Linked DNA regions of Homo sapiens: all the other regions are linked to region 3. Evidence: promoter capture Hi-C in 16 types of primary human blood cells and fetal thymus (Javierre and others, 2016). All regions are on one chromosome and are shown on one strand. The core of a region is centred on a gene start or on the middle of the fragment in contact, and the rest is flanking DNA. Distances in the headings are between cores, read along the strand shown.

The links. The method cuts DNA at HindIII sites, captures the fragments that hold promoters and counts their contacts. A CHiCAGO score of 5 or more calls a contact.
Region 1: a contact is called between a fragment that was not itself captured here and the fragment with the promoter of PICK1 in region 3, in 7 of 17 cell types (fetal thymus, M2 macrophages, endothelial precursors and 4 more). The highest score is 8.4, in fetal thymus.
Region 2: a fragment that was not itself captured here is called in contact with the fragment with the promoter of PICK1 in region 3 in 3 of 17 cell types (M1 macrophages, M0 macrophages and endothelial precursors); the score reaches 6.6 in M1 macrophages.
Region 4: a fragment that was not itself captured here is called in contact with the fragment with the promoter of PICK1 in region 3 in 2 of 17 cell types (M1 macrophages and endothelial precursors); the score reaches 5.6 in M1 macrophages.

Annotation. Positions count from the first base shown.
Region 1 is chr22:38,695,815-38,700,335 of GRCh38, reverse strand. It overlaps JOSD1 (Josephin domain containing 1), which reads left to right. Exons shown (of 5, transcript NM_001360236.2): 2 at 1-533. The coding sequence starts at 349. Among named protein-coding and RNA genes, the nearest start is that of JOSD1, 2.9 kb to the left of the region's middle. The HindIII fragment of the contact is 2,630 bases long and covers 283-2,912 here.
Region 2 is chr22:38,616,737-38,621,283 of GRCh38, reverse strand. It overlaps FAM227A (family with sequence similarity 227 member A), which reads left to right. Exons shown (of 17, transcript NM_001013647.2): 11 at 993-1,072. Among named protein-coding and RNA genes, the nearest start is that of FAM227A, 37 kb to the left of the region's middle. The HindIII fragment of the contact is 1,279 bases long and covers 1,120-2,398 here.
Region 3 is chr22:38,054,851-38,059,807 of GRCh38, reverse strand. PICK1 (protein interacting with PRKCA 1) reads right to left here and starts at 2,404. Exons shown (of 13, transcript NM_012407.4): 1 at 2,221-2,404; 2 at 1,958-2,055; 3 at 463-574. The coding sequence starts at 1,998. RefSeq lists enhancers at 1,703-2,326, 2,571-2,630, 2,327-2,952. The HindIII fragment of the contact is 5,557 bases long and covers 1,677-4,957 here.
Region 4 is chr22:38,647,916-38,652,607 of GRCh38, reverse strand. It overlaps FAM227A (family with sequence similarity 227 member A), which reads left to right. Exons shown (of 17, transcript NM_001013647.2): 2 at 2,346-2,581. The coding sequence starts at 2,440. Among named protein-coding and RNA genes, the nearest start is that of FAM227A, 6.1 kb to the left of the region's middle. The HindIII fragment of the contact is 536 bases long and covers 1,873-2,408 here.

The DNA.
Region 1 (4,521 bases), core at 348-2,847, 640 kb before region 3:
GGAAACAGCAAGAAAATCGTGGGGATTTTGGAGGGGGGTGGGAGGGAAGGGTGGGGAAACGGAAACAAGGTCTTACATTTTATGTGTTTTTTTAAATTCTGCACTTTGACAGTGGTAGCAAAATAAAAGTAATCCAAAAGTTATTTTTCTATTGAGAAGAGAGAAGAGGTGGGTTTTATTTTTTTCCTTTTGATTCCAATCTTTTCTCCCAGTGACAAAGCATAAATCATGGACACCAGAGAATAAGGTGGACCTCAGGAATCCGGAAAAGACTGAGAAGCTTACATTCTTCCTCTAGAGGGAAGAGTGGGGTGTTTATAGCCATCTCTGGAACCTAAAACAAAAAACATGAGTTGTGTGCCATGGAAAGGAGACAAGGCCAAATCTGAATCATTGGAGCTGCCCCAGGCAGCACCCCCACAAATCTACCATGAGAAACAGCGCAGGGAGCTTTGTGCCCTCCACGCCCTCAATAACGTCTTCCAGGACAGCAATGCCTTCACCCGGGATACGCTGCAAGAGATTTTCCAGAGGTAGGGGACCCTTCTCCTTGGCATCTTGATACTGATATTTCTGGATTTCTGTGGGTGGGGCAGTGTCTCAGCTTCATAAACCTTCAAAGCTGTAGGTATTAGCTAGATTGCGTTAGCAGGTATAAGGGACACAAGACATGAAAAGATAATCACTACCATTTATCAGGCACTTACGGTGGGCTAGGAAAGTACTCATAGCCTCAGCTGTGTTTTCTTGAGTGATCTTCAACAGTCCCGTGGAATACGTGTTAATATGTGATGTTATTTCCATTTTACTGATGAAGACACATTTAGTTCAGTACCTCGCCCAAGATAACAAGACTTGGAGCTGGGGTTGAATTCTTATATCTATGCTGTTGACCACTATGCTATAATGCCTGTAAAGCTCTGCTGCCGAGGAGTTTACAGTCTAGAAGTGGGACTAGATACGTACACGTTCAGTCACCTGTCTTTAAAGGTGGAATGTGGTGGGTACCACAAGCAAGATGTATAAACAATGCTCAGCTTTTCTGTGAGGCCATGTGCTGGCAGTAGTGCTGTTCGTACATTGCTTTGTGAAGCTCTCCCAACAGTCATTTCACTGCCTGTATTATGCTGATAGGCAGAAAGGTCAGGTAATATGTCCAAATAGCTTCTAAATAGCAAAGCTATAATTTGAAGTTGACTCCAGATCTCTTCTTTCTCCTTTATTCTAGATGGCCTTTCTTACCCACTTAGAACAAATGCCACCCCACAGGTTAATAGAGGTTCAGGTTTTGGCCAAGTACGGTGTAATCCCAGCACTTTGGGAGGCCGAGGAGGGCAGATCACCTGAGTTCAGGAGTTTGAGACCAGCCTGTCCAACATGGTGGAACCCCGTGTCTACTAAAAATACAAAAATTAGCCCGGTGTGGTGGTGCACGCCTGTAGTCCCAGCTAGTCGGGAGGCTGAGGCAGGAGAATCGCATAAACTTGGGAAGTGGAGGTTGCAGTGAGCCAAGATTGCACCACTCTGCACTCCAGCCTGGGTGACGGGTCTCGGAAAAACAAAAAAAGAAGTTCAGCTTTTTTCTCTTTGCTTTGATTTTCTAGAATTACTTTATTAAAGGTTTTGAGAGTCAGTTCTGTGGTGTCTTAATGGACACAACAGCATGGCTGCAGTCCATAGCAACTCAGGTGATGATCTTGCCTGATGACCCCGACTAGAAGTAGTTAGGCCCGCGCAGTCCTCGCTGCAGAGAAGCTCAAGCATTCTTCAAGCAGTGCATATTAGCAATTCCAGAAGACCTTTTTCTTACTCTCTTAGCTTGGAAGTGAAATTGTTGCCACATAGGGACCAGAATTACAGCTGGAAGCAACCTATTTGGGGTGATTTGTAAAACACAGGTATGGACCATTTGCCCTGAAAGAGCCAAAGGCCTACTCTTAGGAGAATGTTAATCCCCAGATGCAGACAAAACTATAATGAGAGTAATTATTTTCCAATGCCAGTAGTAACCAGAGTAATGCCTTACCAGAGCTAATATATCATTTGCATCATGGCCATTATCTGGCAGCAAGTAGAATTGACTCTTCAGGACCTGGGGCACTGGGAGATAAAATAATTCGTCTCAGATCATCAGGTCATGTCACTGAAAGGAGGACCCAGTACATGCTTCCTTTTGGCCAGCCATTAGTATTTCTCCTACTCCTAATCAGATATTTGCAAATTATTTCCTGAGCTAAAACTAGGGAGAAGGAAAGGACTCAGGGTGAGTACCTCAATGGCTTAGTACTTTGTGATATGTATGAACAATCTTGCAACAACCTTATCAGTGATGAACTTAGGAAACTAGGATTCATTTTAGGCGATTTGCCCAGTTTCACCTACTAGTAAATAAATTCCAGAAACAAGATTCTGTGTATCCAGTCACACTCTGGTAGAAAAGTTTTCACTTCTGTACATTTGGCCCCTGATCTGACTATGGGAATAATGATAGGATCACTAACACACATGAACACTTGGTGCAAAGCACCGTTCTGAGTGCTTTCCTTGTGTCCACTCAGTCCTCACACTGATCTTCCAAGATGGATTCTGTTGCTGCCCATTTTTCCAGTTGAGGAAATCATGGCACAGAGTTCACAGCTATTGATGGCAGAATTTGGCCCCACGCCTTTTGACTCTAGAACCTGCCCCGCTAACCGCTCTCCTGTTTCTCGAGTACTGGAAGCGCCTGTAGAGTGCTATCAGTAGCTGTTCCTCCAGCTGCTGAGCTGGGCCAGCACTGACGTTCTGGACTGTGCTCATCAAGTGTGTGTGGATGATAACAAGAGTTTCTCAGCTTTGTTCTCCTGAATACAAGAATGCTAAATATTTGCTAAATGCCCACATGGAACTAAGATCCTATTCCTTTTGAAGCTTTAGCAAATTGTACTGCATTCCCCAATTCTAGCAGCATAATATAAAGATCCAAAAAGTGCTGGCAAGCCAGCACATAAGGGCATGTATTCTGTCCCAACTCCAGAAGTGGAATTCTGTGTAGAGTATTTTATATTGAAAGAATGTATGAGTAGGTAGGAACAAAAAATACAGAAGTGTGAAAGGAATCTAGAGGAAAAAGCAAAGGGAGAAGAGGTGAGGGAGAGAAGATGGAATTTTTTAAACAAACATTGACTAGCTGCCTGCAGAGTGCCAGGCACTATGAGGCACCATAGAGAAAACGAGTCGAACAGGCCTCAGCCCCTGAGAAGCACATCTCAGCTATGCTTTAACCAGGCCTTGAGACTAGATTTAAGTGAAGTTAGAACCCTGGCATTCAGAGCAATTAAAAAGTGAAAAGTGATCAATTTGGACCTTAGCAGATATAATTCTATGCTGTTTAAAAGTGTGGCTAGTGAATGGTAGAAATGGGAGGGAAATGTTGATAAGCACTATTTGTTGAGAGGAAGTTCATCCTAGCAGTTGAATTTTAGCCAGAAAAAAGAAGCAAAATACAAAAGCAGGGTGGAGTTTCAATAGAGTTGTGGATGTGAGATGATTCATGCTTACAAGTGAATAGGAACTCAGAGCTGAGCTAATGACTCAACATGGCGGCAACAAGGACAGGAAGAGAGGAGTCAGGTGTGTCAGAGGCTTGGTCCAGGATTTGAACATAGTGGTAACATCTGCAAAAAGAGGTCATTTGTTTAAAAAGCATCTGTTTTCAACCTGTGAAATTGGAGAAAAGATAAACTGGGCAAGTGTCATCAGTGTATATGTATACAGATGTAGATATTAGATCTCATCATTTTATATAAAGAATGTGGGCCAGGCACGGTGGCTCACGCATGTAATCCCAGCACTCTGGGAGGCAGAGGTGGGCACATCACCTGAGGTTAGGAGTTTGAGACCAGCCTGGCCAACATATAGCAAAACCATGTCTCTATTAAAAAAAACAAAAATTAGCTGGGGTGATGGCACACGCCTGTAGTCCCAGCTACTCGGGAAACTGAGGCAGGAGAATCACTTGAACCCAGGAGGTAGAGGTTGCAGTGAGCCAAGATCGCACCACTGTACTGTAGTGTGGGCAACAGAGTGAGACTCCCATCTCTCAAAAAAAAAAAGGGGGGGTATAAGGTTTGAAAAAAAGGGTCATAGAAATCAAATTACATGATGGCAGCTTTGCTAGGTGGTTTTGAAAATGCTCAGGCCTGAAACATTTTCACTAGACTCATCCCAGTTTTTTAGTGATCAGATTCTTACATCTAGTTCTGCATTCCTCTCCCAAATAGGATTTTTCCCCCCACCCGAGACGGAGTCTTGCTCTGTCTGCCTAGGCTGGATTGCAGTGGCGTGATCTGGGCTCACTGCAGCCTCCGCCTTCTGGGTTCAAGGAATCCTCCTGCCTCAGCCTCCTGAGTAGCTGAGAGTATAGACGCCCGCCACCACATCCGGCTAATTTTAGTATTTTTGGTAGAGACGGGGTTTCACCATGTTGGCCAGGCTGGTCTGAAACTCCTGACCTCGTGATCCACCCACCTTGGCCTCCCA
Region 2 (4,547 bases), core at 510-3,009, 560 kb before region 3:
CTGCCTTCCAGGTTCAAGCGATTCTTGAGCCTCAGCCTCCCAAGTAGCTGGGATTACAGGCATGCTCCACCACACCAGCTAATTTTTGTATTTTTAGTACAAAAATACAGGGTGAGACAGGGTTTCACCATGTTGCCCAGGCTGGTCTCAAACTCCTGAGCTCAAGCAATCCACCCACCTTGGCCTCCCAAAGTGCTGGGATTATAGGCGTGAGCCACCATGCCCGGCCGACTCAGGGAGTTTTTTCAAAGTGAAGAAAAACCTAACCCATAAATTGCTTGAGTTTAATGACATTTTAATGAATATTAAATTTAACAGCTATGAGTTTGATAGATTGTTTCTTAAGCATTTAAGCATTTTAATTTTGCAGAGCTCTGAATTGGTTTTTCTTCTGAAACCAGTCCTTTTTTTCCTGTGGGTTGAGTGTCTGCCCTATGCACAGAGCTGTGCATACTTTTTTTTTCTTTTTTTTCTTGAGACGGAGTCTCATTATGTCACCCAGGCTGGAGTGCAGTGACGCAATCTCGGCTCACTGCAAGCTCCACCTCCCAGGATCACACTATTCTCCTGCCTCAGCCTCCCGAGTAGCTGGGACTACAGGCGCGCGCCACCATGCCCGGCTGATTTTTTGTATTTTTTTTTTTAGTAGAGACAGGGTTTCACCGTGTTAGCCAGGATGGTCTCGATCTCCTGACCTCGTGATCCGCCCGCCTCGGCCTCCCAAAGTGCTGGGATTACAGGCGTGAGCCACCGCGCCGGCCCTGTGCATACATTATTTCCTTTAATTGGTGCATTCACCCTAGAGGGAGATAGTGTTCACAGTCTAACAGGACCAGGGTTAGGTAACTTGCCCAGCAGGTGGAGTCAACAGAGAGACCCTAGATCTGGTGGGTGTCACTGTCTCCAGAAAGGAGGCTGTCTCAAGCTCCTGGGCTACAATCTTCATTGTCCCATGACAAGAGGAATTAATAACAGCTTTTCCCCTTCTATAGGGAGAGAGTTTTCTTTGTTTGCTGGTAAGAGAGCCTTCTCCCAGAAGCCAGCCCAGAGCAGGAAATTCTACCACCCTCAGGTAAGTGGGGAGGCACGGACCAGGACCCCTTTGGAGTCCCATAAGCTTCAGGAACCCTCGGTTCTTCTGGAGCATCAGTGGCCTCCGGTTAGTTGCACATCTCTGTACCCCTTGCCCAGGTCCACTCCATCTTCTAAGTGAGGAGCCCTGGGAGGCCTCCAGGTCTCCCATGGGTAAGTGGCTAAGTGGCATACTAAGGGGCATTCACAGAAATGCAGCGATTGAGAAGAGAGAGGGAAGGAACCAGGTTTTCAGTGTAGGCTGCAGTGCAAGATGCTTTTACTTATTTTTTTTTCTCCACTAATCCTCATGGCAAACCTGAAACCTAGCAGTCATCCCTGATACGTACTTTCTCCTCTGCCCTATTGATGTTCCTTCTGATGTACCTCCCAGAACCACCTGTTTCTCACTTTTCCACTCCCACCACCCTAGTTTGAGCTCCCATCACTACTGCAGTAGGCACCTAACTGGTCTCCCTCAGGTTCTCAGATACTTCTAGGGCCATCTTTTCAAAGTGCAAAGCTAAGTACATCATCCCATCACCACCTGACCCTATCCTATCCCCCGACCCTAAAAACCCTACTTCCAGGCCAGGCACAGTGACTCACGCCTATAATCCCAATACTTTGGGAGCCCAAGGCAGGCAGATCACTTGAGACCAGGAGTCCAAGACCAGTCTGGTCCACATGGTGAAACCTCGTCTCTACTAAAAATACAAAAATTAGCCAGGCTTGGTGCCATGCACCTGTAGTCCCAGCTACTCAGGAGGCTGAGGCACAAGAATTGCTTGAACCCGGGAGGCAGAGGTTGCAGAGAGCTGAGATCACACCACTGCACTGCAGCCTGGGTAACAGGGCAAGACTCTGTCTCAAAAATAAATAAATAAATAAATAAATAAGATCCTACTTCTAGCCAATAAAATGACACCCTCCACACCCCAGAATGCTTCCTCTGGCCTTTAGTAGACTGACTTGCACAGCCTTGCTCATCTGGCTCAACCCCTTCTCCAACCTCCTGGGCTCTCAGGGGTCCTGCCTCAGGGGACTTCTTTTATTTCCTTGTATACCACACTCCCTTTCTGTATGTGGCCTCTGTACCTCCTGTTCTTCTTGTCCCAGGTAAGCTCCTATCACCATTGCCATTGTCACTGTCAGCATTTCCTCCCAACCCCCAAGTCCAGAGACATTGATAGCATGCAGTTAACCAAATGCCACAAATAAAGGCTTTTTTTTTTTTTTTTCTGAAGAGCTGGAAAAAAAAATCCCAGGGCAGGGTTTAGCAAACTATGAATCAGACCTTTCACTGCCTGTTTTTGAAAATAAAGCTTTATTGGCACACAGCCATGGCCATTCATTTACTATTGTCTACAACTACCTTCACACTGAAACAGCAGAGTTGAGTACTTGCGATAGAGACTTTAGGACCTGCAAAGCCGAATATTTATCATCTGGCTTTTTGCAGAAAAAGTTTGCTAACCCCTGGTCTAGGAGATATATAGTCATCCTTCCATCTCAGTTCAGATTCTTGTAGGGAGGGAAAAAAACCTTTTATCTACCCTCTGAGGCAAAGTGTATGGAGCCCTACAAGTTAAACTGACAAAAGATAGACAGTTTAACAGGAGAAAGGCATTCAAATTTTATTTGATGTTAGTATTTTTACATGACACAGGACTTCATTGGAAGAAAGCGAAAACCTCAAGGAAGTGGCTAGGTCTGATAGTTCACATACCACCCTAACAAAGAGCAATTAATTGTGGAGATGTGACAAGACAAAGGAAAAGAGGTTTAGGCTTCTGGGGATGGTAAATTGTGGGAAGGTAAATATATGGGAGAAACTAATGGAAGATAAGGATTCTTTCAATAAGATTTCTATATGCAGATTCAAGGGGTGCCATCTCCAGTGATGAGTTGTCTCTTCTTCCTGGTACTGGAGATGGGAAGTGGGGACACCTTCACAAAGGAAAATTTATGCTCTGCTTTTAGATGGAAACTGGAATTGTAAAGAGATTTCCTGCATCTGCTGTTTTTCAATTGCCTTCAGCTCAAAATAATTCCTATGCAAAGTGGCCTATTTTGGGATGGCAGATTCTAACCCCCTTCACTCTCATCCTCAGGGTCAGCTTTCTGCCCCTCTGGGCTGGATGATGTTCCTTATTATACAGGCCAATGTCCCTTTCCTTCAGAGCACTCATGTAATTATTTGGTTATTACTCTGATCATGGCTGTTTCCCCTGCTAATCTTTTTTTTAATTGGTTTATTCTTTTAGAGACAGGGTCTCACTCTGTTGCCCAGGCCAGAGTGCTGTGGCGTCCTCCTGGATTCAAGTAATCCTACTGCCTCAACCTCCTGAGTAGCTGGAACATGTCACCATGAATTTTTAATAGAGAAGTCTTGCTATGTTGCCCAGGCTGGTCTTGAACTCCTAGCTCAAGCAATCCTCCTACTTTAGCCTCCTGAAGTGCTTCAATTATAGGTGAGCCACCAGGCCCAGCCTCCCCGCTAATCTTTAAACCCTAGGACAACATTCCCACTTCTAGTACCTGAATGCCCCATTTCTAATGACATGCTTCCTTAACAAATGGCATTGGAGGCTTAATTCATTAAGACAGCCTCCTCCGGCCGGGTGTGGAGGCTCACGCCTGTAATCCCAGCACTTTGGGAGTCCAAGGCAGGCGGATTACAAGGTCAGGAGATCGAGACCATCTTAGCTAACACGGTGAAACCCCATCTCTACTAAAAATACAAAAAATTAGCTGGGTGTGGTGGCACACACCTGTAGTCCCAGCTACTCGGGAGACTGAGGCAAGAGATTTGCTTTAACCCGGGAGGCGGAGGTTGCTGTGAGCTGAGATCGTGCCGCTGCACTCCAGCCTTGGTGACGGAGCAAGACTCTGTCTCAAAAAAAAAAAAAAAAAAAAAGTCTGTTCTCACAGGTTCAGATTCCATCTGTGTGGCCTTAGGCAAGTTATTTGACTTCCCTAAGACTTTGTTTCTATGGGTATAAAATAGATACAACAACCATGGTGCCTTCTTGCAGACATTCTGAAGACTGTGCGGCCCCACAGCTCAGAAGGGCACTCAGTGCTGCCTGGCCGCACCACTGTACTGCCCTAGCATGCCCAGATTCTCCCACCTTCGAAACACTTCCCCTGCAGCGTGTCCTTCCCCACCTGCCCTCCTCCCCAGCACCACCCAGGGAAGGTCTTCACTGAGAAATCACAAGCAGTCAGCAGGAAGGCCCGTGCCTTCCCACCACCAAGACAGCCTGCCCCCCTCTGCACCCTCGCCATCTGCCATCTCTGTGCCTATGGAGAGGTCCTGCTCCCCTCCCAGGTCAGTCCCCAGCCTGTGTTCTGAACCTTGGCCCTCAGCTTCCCAAGTAGAGATGCCCTTAGCGCCCCTCTTTCCTGCATCTTCATTTCCTCCCATTCTGTGGGGTCATTCCCATCACTGAACAGCCGTGCTTTCATCATCT
Region 3 (4,957 bases), core at 1,155-3,654:
AGGTTAAGTAACTTGCTAGTAAGTAGGAAAGAAGCTTGCATTTGAACTCAGGCCATTATTTCATCGTGTTCCTATGACACTTCATTTTGGCTAGTACGCAAGGCTGATGGTTTTGTTGATTCAATAGTCAATTTCTATTGCATGTCCACTATGTGCCAGGCACTGTACCTGGTGCTTACTGCAGTGAAAAAGCAAACCAGGACACTGCCCTCAGTGCAAAGAGTCTACTCTACTAGACAGAGGGCAAATAACAAGTAATAAGTGCCGAGAAGGAAAAAAACAGAGCGACACAGGGGAGAAGACAGGGCAGAGCAACGCAGCGCAGGTGGTCAGAAAGCCCCTCTGAGAGGGTCAGACCTCAAGAATGAGAAGGAGTCAGCTATGCAGTGTGGAGAAATGAACCTGCCTTTGTCATGCCCAAGTAGGGATGTACCTTGTGCCCCCCTCCAAAGCGCCCAATACCTGGACGATATAGAGGCAGGGACAGTACTGGGCCCCTCCTCCAATGCTGATCCCGATCAGGTTCTGAGCATCCTTCTGCAGGGTCACCTTCCCAGGCACAGTCGGGATTCCGCTAGAAAGGAAAGCAAGCTAGGCTGACTCTCCTGGCAGAAGGATGACTGGAGCGGGTGGGCCCTCTAAAACTCCTGAGGGGCTCCACTGGCTGCCCAGCTTTTTCTCTCCCTCCCTTGGACAAAACAACATTTTGTGCTGGAACATGCACAGCTCTTGGAGTTAAGCAGATGTGGGATCAAACCCCAGCTCTGCCATTTATCAGCTGTGGAACTTGGTTTTTTTTTGAGATGGAGTCTTACTCTTGTTGCCCAGGCTAGAGTGCAATGGCGCAATCTCGGCTCACTGCAACCTCCGCCTCCCGGGTTCAAGTGATTCTCCTGCCTCAGTCGCCCAAGTAGCTGGGACTACAGGTGCCTGCCACCACGCCTGGCTGATTTTTTTGTATTTTTAGTAGAGACGGGGTTTCACCATGTTGGCCAGGCTGGTCTTGAACTCCTGACCTCAGTTGATCCGCCTGCCTCAGCCTCCCAAAGTGCTGGGATTACAGGCGTGAGCCACCGTGCCTGGCCAGCTATGGGACTTGGGTAAGTCAGCCTCTGTGCATCTCAATTTCCTCATCCATAAAATGTGGATGAGCACCCTTATCAGAGTTCTTCTAACCATGCATGGAGGGCACTAACAGCAACCCAGTCCATAGCAGGCACTCCATAAAAATAGGTCCCCCTTCCCTTTCATTTATTCGATCTCTGAGATTTGAGCCAGGTTCTGTCCTTGTCACCTTATCAGGCATCTATGTAGTATGATGGCCACCTACTCCAGGGAGTCTTCCTCTATTAAACTGTCCACCTCCCACCTCTCAACTGCTCGATTACCTCTCGGTTTCCACTATAAATTAGCATTGACTGGTGTTTTATGATAAGTACTCACGCTGATTCACTTATTCATTCAAAAAACATTCGCTAACAACCTACTGACGTCAAGTCCCTTACTAAGTGCTGAGCATAGAGAAAGGCATTGCACCCACTCCTTGATCTGAAAGAGGATATATTCTAATGGGAAAATCTGTCCTACTAACAACCTATGTTGGGAAGGAAGGGTGTCTACAATATTCCTATTCAACCTTCAAAACCTGGTTCAATTGCTACGTCCTCCATGAAGCTTTCCTTGACCATCCCAGCAGAAGCACTGCTCCATCTGCTTTGCTCTTCTTGTCACCAAGTCATGCTAATAGTGCCCTTATGGCACTGAGCTGTGATTATCCCTTTAACTGTCCACAGCCCCCTACAAATAGTGAGCTCCTGGGAGAGCAGGGTCCATTGCTGCTTCAGTACAACAACTGATCCACCGCTGAGAAGCAAGGGTCTGTGGGACTGGGAAGTCCAGGGAAATGAGGAACTTGGGGCTCCTATACTGCTGGAACTTGGGGGAATAAAATACTCACAGTTTATCCTCTTCGATGTCATAATCCAAGTCTGCAAACATGGTTCCGAGAGTTGGAGTGGGCTGGCTAACTGCCCAGCTCGGTAGGGGAATGGGGAACTGGATCCGGGAGAGAAAGGAGCATAGGATTTAAGGAACCCAAGTGCCTAAATGCCAACGCCACCCCTCCCTCCACCACCTCATACGGGACAGCAGTGCCCTCCTCTTCCCTCTGGAGTGGGATGGGACAGTCTCCGGGTGGGGGGCTGGGTAGGTGATTCTTACTAGGTACAAAGGGGGGCTCCAGGCCAGGGCGATAGGCTCAGATCCCAGAGTCCGCCCCACGGGTCTCCAGGCCCTGGGGAGCTGCCTCTGTCGCTCACCGGAAGCGTTGGTCCCACAGCCGGGTCCCGGCCAGGCTGGTACCTGAACCCACCTGCCGTTCCACCTGGCGGTGGCCGCGATTGTCACGTCACTTCCGGCAAGACGCGGAAGTCCCGGCTTTCCCCCCACTGGATATTTGCTCCAATCCCTGCAGACAATCCTTCCCTTCCCGGCTCCCGGGACGCTCGGAACCAAGAACGAGAACAAGTATTGGCGGAAGCTCGCTGTTAGTAGGAACAAGCGAAAACAGAGGAACGGTCTGGACAGGCTGACAGCGTCTAACCCCGCCCTTTGCCCTGCCGCCGCCGCCATCTTGGGAAGGGCAGGGTTTGTCCCAGCTTCCTCAGCTGCACTCAGGGGCCCGCGCCGGCCCGGCGGTTGCCATGGCAACGAAAGCATCCCTGAGCCGGGGTTACCTCCGGCGAGGCTCAGTGGACTATAAACCCCAAGACATCATGCCCTTTCACCCCTTCACCACCTGGGCCTGTGACTCCCCTACTAGAATGGCCCTTTGAGGTCCCAGCCCATCCCAGTTTCGCCAACTTAAGTGCCAAAGAGCGGGGAGTGATTTTGTGCGGGGCCACACACAGTTGGTGTAAGATCTGGATCGTGGCCCTGAAACTCCCGCCGCCTAGTCTAGGGATCTTTGAACGTCCAAACACTAAACAGAGAGCCAGGAGAGGTGTATTCAGTGGGTCTTGCTATTAAGGACAGACTGGACATGCTCCCTTCCCTTTATGTGCCTCAGTTTCCCCATATGTAAACCAAGGCCATTGAGGTAAATGCTTTCTATGGTATATGGTGAAAGGTTTCTCACACCCCCTCCTCCTTCCTTAGTCCTGAGGAGCAGCCCCCCTGGGGTCCCAGGGAGGGTCACGGTCCGCATGTACCTGAGGCTCGGGAAATGCTATCAGTGCTCCCCAGAGTCCGAATCTTGTCTCCTCGCCAGCCTCTGCTGCCACTGCTATTGTGTAAAGTGGGTTCCCTGGGGGAGGTTGGCTCTCCCAGAGCCACAGCCAGGCATCCACCTCATCCGGCAGCATGGGGCCAGGCCCATCCAGCTTGCTTCCCCAGCTGCCCCAGGAGCCATGGAAGAAAGATACAGAAGGATGATTATCCACATATCCCACGGCCGGTGGAAGCCCCGCCCTACTCTCTCCTTAGGTGGCTAATTGAGTCCGGACAGATGTGCAGAATGCCGTGACAATAACAGCCTTCCCACGTGTCCACTGCTCTCCTGTGAGATCACTTTCACAGGATTTGAAAGCTCACCACCACCCTGTGAGAGAAGACCAAATCTTGCCAGCCACATTGTGCAGGCAAGGAAACGGAGGCCCTGGGAAGCCTCTTCCTCTGGTATCATAGCGGCAGGGCTGGGGCTGGGAAAACCAAGCTCTGTTTCCAGGCCAGAATTTTGGTTTCAAAAAGCAGCAGTCTAAGGCCAGGTGCGGTGGCGCACACCTGTAATTCCAGCTATTTGGGAGCCTGAGGCAGGAGAATCGCTTGAAAATAGGAGAGGGAGGTTGTAGTGAGCCGAGATCAGGCCATTGCACTCCAGCCTGGGCGACAGAGAGAGACTCCGTTTCAAAAAAAAAAAAGGCAGCAGTCTCCAAACCCAGGTGCCTTAACATGGATTGTGGCTCTTCCAGCCCATGACCATGCTAGCTCAGGCCCAGGCTCTGCCATTTTGTAGCTGGGAGATCTTGGGTGAGTCGCTGTCTCACTCTGAGCCTCAGGTACGTGTAGAATGGGGAAATGACACCTGCCACCAGGTATTTGTGAAAGTCAAGATTAAAAGGAGAGGCTGGGCGCGGTGGCTCACGCCTGTAATCCCAGCACTTTGGGAGGCTGAGGAGTGTGGATCATGAGATCAGGAGTTGGTATAAGATCTAGATCATATATCTGGACCAGCCTGGCCAACATGGTGAAACCCCGTCTCTACTAAAAATGCAAAAATTAGCCAGGCATGGTGGTATGCACCTGTAATCCCAGCTACTCAGGAGACTGAGGCAGGAGAATCGCTTGGACCCGGGTGGCGGAGATTGCAGTGAACCGAGATCGCGCCATTGCATGCCAGCCTGGGTGACAGAGCCAGACTCCATCTCAGAAACAAAAGATTAAAAGGAGAAACAGGTGTGAGTGCTTTGTAAACAATTTGCATGGCACAGCTGTCACTCTGACCTCAAAACCCCCTACCCACTCTGGCCCTTCTTCTCAGGTTGGGGAAGATGCCCCTGTTTTCTGCCTTGTTCATCCCTTGCCTGCAGGCTCCGCTCTAATTCACCTCTTCCCGGCAGCCTTAGCAGACAATCTCAGCTCATATATCTTGCTCCCTTTTCTGAGCTGAGCTCCTGAGCAGTTGCTATTTGAATCATTTGTTCAGCAATTTGCTGTGTATTTGCCTTGTGAAATCTCTTCATGGTTTTCCTGAGCCAATTCTGCAGTGATTAATTTATTACATGCTTGTATTTTGTCTGGCAAGGTTTTTATCCCCTTTAAATTTGGGGCTTACAGCTCATAGCTACGCCTGGCTAATTTTTGCAATTTTTTTCTTTTCTTTTCTTTTCTTTCTTTCTTTTTTTTTTTCTTTGAGATGGAGTCTCCCTCTTGTCGCCCAGGCTGGAGTTAAGTGGTGCGA
Region 4 (4,692 bases), core at 891-3,390, 590 kb before region 3:
ACCTTTTTTTTTTTTTTCTTGAGATGGAGTCTCGCTCTGTCGCCCAGGCTGGAGTGCAGTGGCGTGATCTCGGCTCACTGCAAGCTCCGCCTCCTGGGTTCACGCCATTCTCCTGCCTCTGTCTCCCAAGTAGCTGGGACTGTAGGTGCCCGCCACCATGCCCGGCTAATTTTTTGTATTTTTTAGTAGAAACGGGGTTTCACCATGTTAGCCAGATGGTCTCGATCTCCTGACCTCATGATCTGCCTGCCTCGGCCTCCCAAAGTGCTGGGATTACAGGTGTGAGCCACTGCGCCTGGCCTAAAGTCAGCGTTGTTTTTATATGCTCAAATATATTAACTTTTTTGTTATTTTAATTTTTCTTTTTTTCATATCGCCTCTTCTGAGAAGCATCAAATATGTTAACTTTATTTATTTATTTTGAGACAGGGTCTTACTCTGTCTTTCAGGCTGGAATGCAGTGGCATGATCTCAGCTCACTGCAACCTCCACCTCCCAGGTTCAAGCGATTCTCCTGCCTCAGCCTCCCTAGTAGCTGGGATTACAGGGGCCTGCCACCATGCCCAGCTAATTTTTGTATTTTAGTAGAGATGGCGTTTCACCACGTTGGCCAGGCTGGTCTCGAACTCTTGACCTCATGATTCGCCTGCCTCGGCCTCCCAAAGTGCTGGGATTACAGGCGTGACCCACCACGCCCAGCCCAAATATGTTAACTTTAAACAGGGCATTTGAATCTTGACTGCCAGAATGTGTGCTCCATGAGGGCAGAAGGTTTCTTACTCTTCCACTCTTCTGCCCTGCCCCCAGCACATCATATTGCTTGCCACAGGGTAGATATTTAAGGAAGCTAGTTTTCTTCCCTCTCCTTTTATCCTCCCCAAGTAATGGCAGTAAAAACTTACCATGTTTCAGAGAATACCTAAAATGGTATGAAATATTCAGAAGGGGCTGGGAGTGGTGGTTCACGCCTGTAATCCCAGCACTTTGAGAGGCCAAGGTGGGTGGATCACCTGAGGTCAGGAGTTCGAGACCAGCCTGGCCAAAATGGTGAAACCCCATCTCTACTAAAAATACAAAAATTAGGCAGTTGTGGGTGGCAGGTACCTGTAGTCGCAGCTACACGGGAGGCTTGAATCCAGGATGTCAAGGCTGCAGTGAGTGAGCCAAGATCGCGCCACTGCACTCCAGTCTGGACGACAGAGCAAGACGCTGTCTCAAAACAAACAAACAAACAAACAAAAAACCATGGTAAGTCTAAAAGGAATCACAGTTAATCCATAATTTGCCTAGTGGAGAAAGCAGTAGAAGCAAATCATTCCAGTTCACTATTGTGAGTCCTGTGATAGATGAATGCAGAACCTTGGGCTTTGCAGAGGAGGCATGGTGCTAATGGCTTGGAATTATTTGAGAAGGTTTCCACAGATATGTCACCTGGGCGTAGTCCAACAGAGGGAACCACATCTGGAAAGGCATAGAGGTAGGAAGAGCATTGTGTGGTCAGGGAGCAGGAAGAAGTTCTGCGGGTCTGGCATGTAAGATGCATGTCTGTGGAGAAGATGGAGCAAAGGCCTGAACCGGAGGAGAGGGAAGGAGAGTATGGTGAAAGGGCATTTGAGTTCATGTTCCCACCAAACTCAACGTTTTCTCTGTCCTTCCGTTATGTATGAGCTTCTAGAGGGCAGGATCTAAGTCTTTTGCTGTATTATAACGAGGCCTATCACACTAGACTCTGGACATAGAGGGCCCACAGATGGAAGTAATGGGTTCCTGGCCAACAAGCAAGGACCCAGGAGAGCTGTTAGACCAGAGTGTTGCAGAGCCAAGGAGGAAGAGTAGGGTTGGGGCCAGTTTTCTGAGAGGGAGCAGAAAGCTTCAGGTTGATCAGGAGCCTCGCGCTGAGGAGATGGACCCCTTATTCTAGAATCACAGCATCGGAAAGCTGGAGAGAGCCTTAGGGTCACCTAATCCAAATCTCTTTTAGAGTTGGGACTCAGAGAAGCAAAGAGATCTGATTTCATTTCTCGTTTGGGAACTGACTTGCTGAGTGGTCTGGAGTAGTCTGGAGCCCTGGCCTTTTCCGCATTCTAGTTTCCTTATTTTTAAAACTAGAACAATTTTCATCATGGGGGAGGGGCAGAGGGAGAGTCAGGCATCAGACATTGGAAGAACAAGTCCATATACCTTGAAATCCTCATTTAAGAATAGGCTTCTCAGACGGAACCCTTTCATTCCCCATGCAGGCATGGGACATGTGCTTTGCCATCAACCCTGTGTAGCTGGGGAACATGGTTGGGCTTTTCTTCTTGTGTTTTCTGAGCTGGCTCTATGCTGTTTATGATTTCCAGGAGGCTGATTAAACAAACGACAAGATTGGAGTGGGAAATGAGAGGCTCTTAAAAGTGGAAGCTTTTTGTTTGTCCATTTACAAGAAATTGGACAATGAATCACTTCAGGAAGATGGAGGTCATCAACCTCACCACCCTACCTATGATACCAGTGGATGAGCACCTGGCTGTCTCGCTTGTCGCACGGAATACAATGGTGAAGACTGTGAGGAAGGAGTTAGAGAACAATCCACCCTGTATCCTTCTGGTGATGTCACCTACAATCAGACCAAATACACCTAACTTGAGTCATGCCACAGAGATCTAATCAGTGCTCAGGTCTATAATGCACATTACTTATTAGCTTGTCCCTTATACATTCATTTTTTCTTTTCTTTTCTTTCTTTTTTTTTTTTGAGATGGAGTTTCACACTGTTACCCAGGCTGGAGTGCAGTGGCACAGTCCCAGCTCACTGCAACCTCTACCTCCCAGGTTCGAGCAGTTCTCCTGCCTCAGCCTCCTGAGTAGCTGAAATTACAGGTGCCTGCCACCACACCTGGCTAATATTTTATATTTTTAGTAGAGATGGGGTTTCACCATGTTGGCCAGGCTGGTCTTGAACCCCGGACCTCAAGTGATCCACCTGCCTCGGCCTCCCTAAGTGCTGGGATTACAGTCATGAGCCACCTCGCCCAGCCATATTCCTTTTTTTTTTTTGAGACAGAGTCTCACTCTGTTGCCCAGGCTGGAGTGCGGTGGTGCAGTCTCAGTTCACTGCAACCTCCACTTCCCAAGTTCAAGTGATTCTCCTGCCTCAGCCTCCCGAGTAGCTGGGATTACAGGCGCCTGTCACCATGTCCAGCTAATTTTTTGTATTTTTAGTAGAGATGGGGTTTCACCATGTTGGCCAGGCTGGTCTTGAACTCCTGACCTCAGGTGATCTGCCCGCCTTGACCTCCCAAAGTGCTGGGATTACAGGCATGAGCCACCGCATCTGGCCAGATACATTTTTTCAATTACTTAAACTCTACCCATCCTCTAAAAGAATTTGAGACTGTGAAGGACTGTTTGACTCCAGTATTTTTTACTAACATAATCAGAAAGAGCCCCAAAGGAAGAAGCTCTGGAAGTATTTGTGGAAAGAATGGGGAAGAATATTTTAAAAGCTAATTTTAAAAAGTGGTTGCCATCTTTCCCTTCTATCTCCCAAAGAATTATAGATGTTATTGATAGCAACTAAGAAATTGTGGTGCAACCCTCCACCCTCAGACAGATGAGCATGAAACCCAGCTTTTTCTTTTTTTTTTTTTTGAGACAGAGTCTCACTCTGTTGCTCAGGCTGGAGTGCAGTGGCATAGACTCGGCTCACTGCAACCTCTGCCTCCCAGGTTCAAGGGATTCTTCTGCCTCAGCCCCCAAGTAGCCGAGATTACAGGCACCCACCACCACGTCTGGCTAATTTTTGTATTTTTAGTAGAGACGGGGTTTCACCATGTTTGTCAGGCTGGTCTCGACCTCCTGACCTCAGGTGGTCCACCCACCTCAGCCTCCCAAAGTGCTGGGATTACAGGCGTGAGCCACCGCACCCAACCTTTAGCCCATTTTTAAATCAGGTTGTGTATTTTCTTACTGTCGAGTTTTTAAGAGTTCTTTAAATATTTTGTTTGTTTGTTTCTGAGACAGAGTCTCACTCTGTCGCCCGGGCTGGAGTGCAGTGGCATGATCTCGGCTCACTGCAACCTCCACCTCCCGGGTTCAAGCAGTTCTCCTGCCTCAGCCTCCCAGGTAGCTGGGATTACAGGCATGTGCCACCACGTCTGGCTAATTTTGTATTTTTAGAAGAGACAGGGTTTCTCCATGTTGGTCAGGTTGGTCTCGAACTCCTGACCTCAGGTGATCCGCCTGCCTCAGCCTCCCAAAGTGCTTGGGATTACAGGCATGAGCCACTGCACCCAGCCTTTTTTTTTTTTTTTTTTTAATCAAGTTGACCTTGCCTCTTCTCACCTGCCAGCCCTTCTCCCTGGCCCCAAATCTGCTCCTTCTGGCATCGTCCAGGCTCTACCAGCATCTTACTGCCCTGGCCCTGTCTTCGTTCATCCTCTTCTCACTTCTGACCCTGAGTTGTATTCCAGGGTCACAGAACTCCATCTCTGGAGGACCTTACAGCTCGTCCAGTAAATAACCCTCTCGGACTATAAATAACCCCAGGTCTTTCCATCTCCTGTGGAGCTCATTTACCTTCAAGCCATCCTGCCAGCTCAGCTGCATGTACCACTCTGCCCCCCTCACCTTCCTTGCCTCTCAGAAGCCCTTCTTAAGATGAGGCAAAGTGTGATCCCATCAGAATTTGCTTCAGGGTCTCACTTT